2 separate regions of the Homo sapiens genome follow, and region 1 is linked to region 2. The links are contacts of gene promoters, found by promoter capture Hi-C in blood cells and fetal thymus (Javierre and others, 2016). All regions are on one chromosome and are shown on one strand. Each heading gives the region's core, a stretch centred on a gene start or on the middle of the fragment in contact. The rest is flanking DNA. Distances are from core to core; before and after follow the strand shown.

Region 1 (3,328 bases), core at 2-2,501, 260 kb after region 2:
CATGGTGACAGAAGAAGACAAGAGGACTCTTCGAGACATTGAGACCTTCTACAACACCTCCATTGAGGAAATGCCCCTCAATGTTGCTGACCTCATCTGAGGGGCTGTCCTGCCACCCAGCCCCAGCCAGGGCTCAATCTCTGGGGGCTGAGGAGCAGCAGGAGGGGGGAGGGAAGGGAGCCAAGGGATGGACATCTTGTCATTTTTTTTCTTTGAATAAATGTCACTTTTTGAGGCAAAAGAAGGAACCGTGAACATTTTAGACACCCTTTTCTTTGGGGTAGGCTCTTGCCCCAGGCGCCGGCTCTTCTCCCAAAAAAAAAAAAAAAACACTAATCCATTTCCCTAACCTAGTAACCTCCAGATCCCAGAGGCTCTCCTCACCTCAGCTGAGCTCCTTTGAAAGTGATTCAAGGGACTATGTCACTCAGCCTCATTTGCTGGACCAAATCTGGAGGGAGAACCCCTAAAACCCCTAAGTGAGGTTGCCCAGGGGGTTGTCCCCAGGTGGGGGGAAGCAGGGGAGAGAAAATGGTAGCCATTTTTACATTGTTTTGTATAGTATTTATTGATTCAGGAAACAAACACAAAATTCTGAATAAAATGACTTGGAAACTGCCTGTTTGGGCTTCTCATTTCTTACCTCCCCTTCCCTCTCCCACCTGCTACTGGGTGCATCTCTGCTCCCCCCTTCCCCAGCAGATGGTTACCTTTGGGCTGTTGCTTTCTTGTCACCATCTGAGTTCTCAGACGCTGGAAAGCCATGTTCTCGGCTCTGTGAATGACAATGCTGACTGGAGTGCTGCCCCTCTGTAAAGGGCTGGGTGTGGATGGTCACAAGCCCCTCACATGCCTCAGCCAAGAGGAAGTAGTACAGGGGTCAGCCCAGAGGTCCAGGGGAAAGGAGTGGAAACCGATTTCCCCACCAAGGGAGGGGCCTGTACCTCAGCTGTTCCCATAGCTACTTGCCACAACTGCCAAGCAAGTTTCGCTGAGTTTGACACATGGATCCCTGTGGATCAACTGCCCTAGGACTCCGTTTGCACCCATGTGACACTGTTGACTTTGCCCTGATGAAGCAGGGCCAACAGTCCCCTAACTTAATTACAAAAACTAATGACTAAGAGAGAGGTGGCTAGAGCTGAGGCCCCTGAGTCAGGCTGTGGGTGGGATCATCTCCAGTACAGGAAGTGAGACTTTCATTTCCTCCTTTCCAAGAGAGGGCTGAGGGAGCAGGGTTGAGCAACTGGTGCAGACAGCCTAGCTGGACTTTGGGTGAGGCGGTTCAGCCATGAGGCTGGCTGTGCTTTTCTCGGGGGCCCTGCTGGGGCTACTGGCAGGTAAGGAGGAAGGAGGCTGAGGGGAGGGGGCCCCTGGGAGGGAGCCTGCCCTGGGTTGCTAACCATCTCCTCTCTGCCAAAAGCCCAGGGGACAGGGAATGACTGTCCTCACAAAAAATCAGCTACTTTGCTGCCATCCTTCACGGTGACACCCACGGTTACAGAGAGCACTGGAACAACCAGCCACAGGACTACCAAGAGCCACAAAACCACCACTCACAGGACAACCACCACAGGCACCACCAGCCACGGACCCACGACTGCCACTCACAACCCCACCACCACCAGCCATGGAAACGTCACAGTTCATCCAACAAGCAATAGCACTGCCACCAGCCAGGGACCCTCAACTGCCACTCACAGTCCTGCCACCACTAGTCATGGAAATGCCACGGTTCATCCAACAAGCAACAGCACTGCCACCAGCCCAGGATTCACCAGTTCTGCCCACCCAGAACCACCTCCACCCTCTCCGAGTCCTAGCCCAACCTCCAAGGAGACCATTGGAGACTACACGTGGACCAATGGTTCCCAGCCCTGTGTCCACCTCCAAGCCCAGATTCAGATTCGAGTCATGTACACAACCCAGGGTGGAGGAGAGGTAAAGCTAAAACTGGGGGATGAGAGGGGAGGGAGGCAGGACTGGATATAGGCTCAGAGGGAAGAAGGAAGAGGGGACAGGGAACCTTGGCCGGCATCGCATGCAGTCTTGTGACCTTCCAGTCTTTAACTTCCGCAGGCCTGGGGCATCTCTGTACTGAACCCCAACAAAACCAAGGTCCAGGGAAGCTGTGAGGGTGCCCATCCCCACCTGCTTCTCTCATTCCCCTATGGACACCTCAGCTTTGGATTCATGCAGGTATAGCCATGACCTCAGTCTCACCCCTCACTCAGCCTCCCGGCGCCCCTCCCCTCCCAATCCCACACGCTACTCCTTCCTCTGTGGAGAGGGATACCACCTGCGCCTTCCTCTTCGCCCCACAGGACCTCCAGCAGAAGGTTGTCTACCTGAGCTACATGGCGGTGGAGTACAATGTGTCCTTCCCCCACGCAGCACGTAAGTAACCTCCTTCCCTTTCTCATTGCTACCACTAGACGCCAGGGTTCCTGAAAGGACTAAGCTGGGGCCAGGGAGGTGGATAGGATCTGACCCTTCCTCACTCCTCCAGAGTGGACATTCTCGGCTCAGAATGCATCCCTTCGAGATCTCCAAGCACCCCTGGGGCAGAGCTTCAGTTGCAGCAACTCGAGCATCATTCTTTCACCAGCTGTCCACCTCGACCTGCTCTCCCTGAGGCTCCAGGCTGCTCAGCTGCCCCACACAGGGGTCTTTGGGCAAAGTAAGACCTACCTACTCCTTCCCTCCTAGAATCCTCCCACTGCACTGAAAACCCCTTCCCCAGGCCCATAAGCCACTCATCTCTCTTCTTAACCCCCCAAATCTCGCTCTCCCAGCTTGTCATGGCTACAGGGCAGCTTTCTTTCCATCCTCTACAAGACTCTGCCAGTTTCCCCCTTTTATCACTGCTGAGTCACTGCGGTGAGCTCCTCACCAATCTCCTACTCCCCAGCATCCCCCCATTCCCTCCTCCCACCTTTATCCCAACCAGCACGTCACTGCAAATACCTACCTGCCCTATCCTTCCGCCAGGTTTCTCCTGCCCCAGTGACCGGTCCATCTTGCTGCCTCTCATCATCGGCCTGATCCTTCTTGGCCTCCTCGCCCTGGTGCTTATTGCTTTCTGCATCATCCGGAGACGCCCATCCGCCTACCAGGCCCTCTGAGCATTTGCTTCAAACCCCAGGGCACTGAGGGGGTTGGGGTGTGGTGGGGGGGTACCCTTATTTCCTCGACACGCAACTGGCTCAAAGACAATGTTATTTTCCTTCCCTTTCTTGAAGAACAAAAAGAAAGCCGGGCATGACGGCTCATGCCTGTAATCCCAGCACTTTGGGAGGCTGAGGCAGGTGGATCACTGGAGGTCAGG
Region 2 (3,430 bases), core at 1-2,500:
GAACAGTCAGGCTCTGCTGGTATGCAGCTGATGTTAGGGTGGTCAGGTCACTGGAGTGAAAGGAAGACAGGTCAAAGTCAAGGACAGATGCCTTCTCTTTTGCCATTAAACACTGGTTCTTTTACTACCTGATCCCAGTTCCACTTGGCCCCCATTTCAGTTTTTAGCACTCTGATCCCACCTCTGTTCCTTTCGCCTCCGTTTTTCTTCCTCATGTAAAACTTTCTTGAGCTGCAGGAAAAGCTGGTGCTTCTCTTCCTGTAGAGCCAAAAGCTTCTCCTCCAACTTCAGAATCTGGGATGGGGTGGGAAAAGAAGATGAAGGCAGGGAGAGTCAAACGAAGAAATCAAAGCTGGGAAAGTTCAAGGGACTGCTTACTTGTTCCTTGGTCTCCTCTAATGACATTCTCTCTTCCATCTCCTTTTTCTTCCTTCTCTCCTGTTCTTCCTTCATCTTCTGTTCCATCATCTTATCCACCTCTTCTTCCTCTGGAGAATCAGGCAGAATGAAGAAGAGGCAGGGTAGTGAAAACAATTCCAACGTTACAGATTGAAGACCAGCAAAACCCAGTCATCCCAACACGCCTGTATGCTCTTTGCCTCGAGGGGACAAGCTCCCCATCGCGGCAATAGGGAACGGAAAGGCTTTATCAGGTGCTCTCCAAGGTCCTTCCCATCTCAAGGGTTCTGGAGCGTGGAACAGGACGCTTAAATCCCACCACAACGGGGCTATTCCTTCCCTCCTCTGCGCTCGGCAGCGGGCGCGCTGGTTGGCCGGTGGGTTGAGGCCAGCCTTGAGGTACAGGAGCCATTCTGGGCCGTGCGTCCCCCTGCTATGGCCCCGGCTCACCCTGCCGCTTGCGCTCCCGCTCCATCATAATGTGCCGGTGCAGCGCCCTGGCCATGGCGTTGGAAAGCTTGGGGCGCTCCAGGAGTGCGGGCATGGTGCTGCCGTGGGCGCTCGGGCCGTGGGCGCCCGGCTGTCTCTGACTGCCAGACCTCAGACGGGGCCTGCGGGGAGGCGGGCGCTCAGAGGGGGCCGCGCCCGGCCCAGGCGGAAGCCCGTCCGCCCGGCCCGCTCGCCGCCCCGGTCACGTGTCCCAGGAGCCCGCCACCCGGCCGGGACCGCAGCCCCAGTCCCACCGCGCGCGGGCGGCGCCGGGGTCCCCGGCTCGCTGCTGCCGCTCCCTGCCCAGCCAGCGCGGACGACTGCCCTTCCTACCCGCCTTCTCTGCGCTTTCTCAGCGGCTCCGACGCGCCCTGGCCCCTGCGTCACATCCGGCGGCCCGGCCGAGTCCTTCCGGAGTCACGGCGGCGGCCGACCTCACAGGTGAAAGAAGGCGGAAGCGCGCTGCGACGGGTGCCCGCGGCGTACAAACCCCGTCGCCGGGAACGTGAGCGACGACGGCTGCAGACTGGCCTTGGCATCCTCAGCTCTCTTTAATTTCGCGGGCCCACCTGGTGGCACCCCAGGGGACGCGGGCTCCGGAGAGGGGCGCGCGAGAGAGAGGCCGAGGCGGAGGCTCTGAGACGGTGTTTATTGGCTCCTTAGAAATCAGAGTCAGTAACAACTGTACAGAGGCCCCCATCTTCCGTGCGCCCACCCTTCCCCACTCCCGCCCGGTGGCCCCGGAAAAAGCAGCTTCATGTGGGCACAGGGAGAGACTCCTCTGGGATTCACAGTAACCAGAAACAAAAACGGAAATAAATTAAGTGATGTGGGGTAGGGGAGTAAAAGGGAGTCATGTTCCCCAAATCAGTGCATGAAGAGGGGTACCAGGGCCTGGAGCTGGGCTCCCACGACTCCTCCCATCAGACGGAGTGCTGGGCCTCCGGACATGGAGCTGTGCCACTTGCCACCTACATCTGAGAGCCTGCCTACATGCTCCTGCGCGGCTGCCAAGCTCCAGCACCTGCGCATGCCACGAGTCACGGGAATGAGGTGGAGGCAGTCGCCACTCAGAGTCCATGGGCCCGCGGCCCGACTGTGCTTGTAGTAGTGGTGTCTCACCCCTCATTCCACCCGTACCAGCAGGGCACAGAGGAGTGTGGCCCCCTTCTCCTTAGTGACCCACTCAAGTTCGGCTGGACTGAAGTGAGGGTCAGGAGGTTCTCCAAGGGCAGCGGAAGGGGGTCCCGGGGTGTAGGAGCCAGGGCGCACACACACCTGGAACGCCACCTGAGCCTGGTGCGTCCGCTGGGATTTGGGGTCCCGGAATCTGTCAGACAAGAAAAAATAAGGGAGTGAAGCCTCTCGCCCCATCACCTCCCCCTTGCAAAGTCTGTTCCAACCACACAAGCCTTGCTGTACCTAGGAAATACTCCCACCTTATGGGAACTTCGCTCTAGCTGTTCTACCTGAAATGCTCTTCCTCCCAAAGCCTGCTCAGCTACACCCTTCACTTCCTTCTTCAAGCCTTTGCTCGAATCTCTCCCACCTTCTTAGGATGTCCACACCAACCGCACTGCTGTCTCCGCCCCATTCTTTCTCTGTTTCCATAGTCCTTACTTATTACCTTTAAAAATACTAAATACTGGCGGGGCGCGGTGGCTCACGCCTGTCCCAGCCCTTTGGGAGGCCGAGGTGGGCGGATCACGAGGTCAGGAGATCGAGACCATCCTGGCCAACATGGCGAAACCCCGTCTCTACTAAAAATACAAAAATTATCCGGGCTTGGTGGTGCGTGCCTGTAGTCCCAGCTACTCAGGAGGCTGAGGCAGGAGAATCGCTTGAACCCAGGAGGTGGAGGTTGCAGTGAGATCACGCCACTGCACTCCAGCCTGGGTGACAGAGCAGGACTCCGTCTCAAAAAAAATAAAAATAAAAATAAATAAATAAATAATACTTATTACGTATGAACATTGTAGAGAGAAAAGGCAGAAGTTCCACAAGAGCAAGGTTCCTTTTTTTGCCCACTAGAAGAGTATATAAGTAGTATTTGTTCAATGAATGAAGAAAGGGCTGAGTTGGAGACTGGCAGCTAGCAAGACGAGATGAGAAAAGGGGAGGGCGAATCATGAAGACCCCAGTGGCTGCGCTTGGGCCCTCTCCATCCGAGCCCCTGGAAATCTCTCCCCACCCCTCCCAGTACTCACTGCACTTTGGAGGCCAGGGTCTCCGCCCCAGCATATTGAAGGGAGGGGGAAAGCAGCACAGGAGGGGGCTGCTCCTCCCGAGGAGGTGCACAGTTCTCGCCAGGCTCCTCGAACCCTACCCCAGGTTCTCCCTTCAAAGGACGGCAGCTCAGGATGGAGGCAGTACCTGGGAGGAGAACTGGGTCAGGATAGCCCTTTTTATTCCTCCACAGCCCCCCAGGCTCAGCCCACCTTGCATGGGCCTACTCGCCAGTACCTGCTCCCAGCTCCCCTCGGTCCAGCACTCTCCGTACAGCGGCAACATTGCTCCCGTGATATGCCATGTGCCACTTCTT

Evidence for each region. Contacts are between HindIII fragments. The CHiCAGO score rates a contact against its expected background, and 5 or more counts as called.
Region 1: a contact is called between the fragment with the promoter of CD68 here and the fragment with the promoter of GPS2 in region 2, in 7 of 17 cell types (naive CD4 T cells, total B cells, fetal thymus and 4 more). The highest score is 9.0, in naive CD4 T cells.

The regions. Positions count from the first base shown.
Region 1 is chr17:7,578,387-7,581,714 of GRCh38, forward strand. CD68 (CD68 molecule) reads left to right here and starts at 1,252. Exons shown (of 6, transcript NM_001251.3): 1 at 1,252-1,340; 2 at 1,424-1,941; 3 at 2,080-2,199; 4 at 2,325-2,397; 5 at 2,510-2,680; 6 at 2,992-3,328. The coding sequence starts at 1,292. The coding sequence ends at 3,125. EIF4A1 (eukaryotic translation initiation factor 4A1) reads left to right here. Exons shown (of 11, transcript NM_001416.4): 11 at 1-620. The coding sequence ends at 100. It overlaps SENP3-EIF4A1 (SENP3-EIF4A1 readthrough (NMD candidate)), which reads left to right. Exons shown (of 22, transcript NR_037926.1): 22 at 1-620. RefSeq lists a silencer at 253-441 and enhancers at 1,917-1,976, 2,077-2,146. The HindIII fragment of the contact is 9,128 bases long and covers 1-3,328 here.
Region 2 is chr17:7,314,110-7,317,539 of GRCh38, forward strand. It overlaps GPS2 (G protein pathway suppressor 2), which reads right to left and starts at 1,251. Exons shown (of 11, transcript NM_004489.5): 1 at 1,222-1,251; 2 at 850-1,010; 3 at 379-488; 4 at 182-294; 5 at 1-50. The coding sequence starts at 943. NEURL4 (neuralized E3 ubiquitin protein ligase 4) reads right to left here. Exons shown (of 29, transcript NM_032442.3): 27 at 3,352-3,430; 28 at 3,096-3,261; 29 at 1,519-2,218. The coding sequence ends at 2,014. RefSeq lists a silencer at 864-1,193. The HindIII fragment of the contact is 7,056 bases long and covers 915-3,430 here.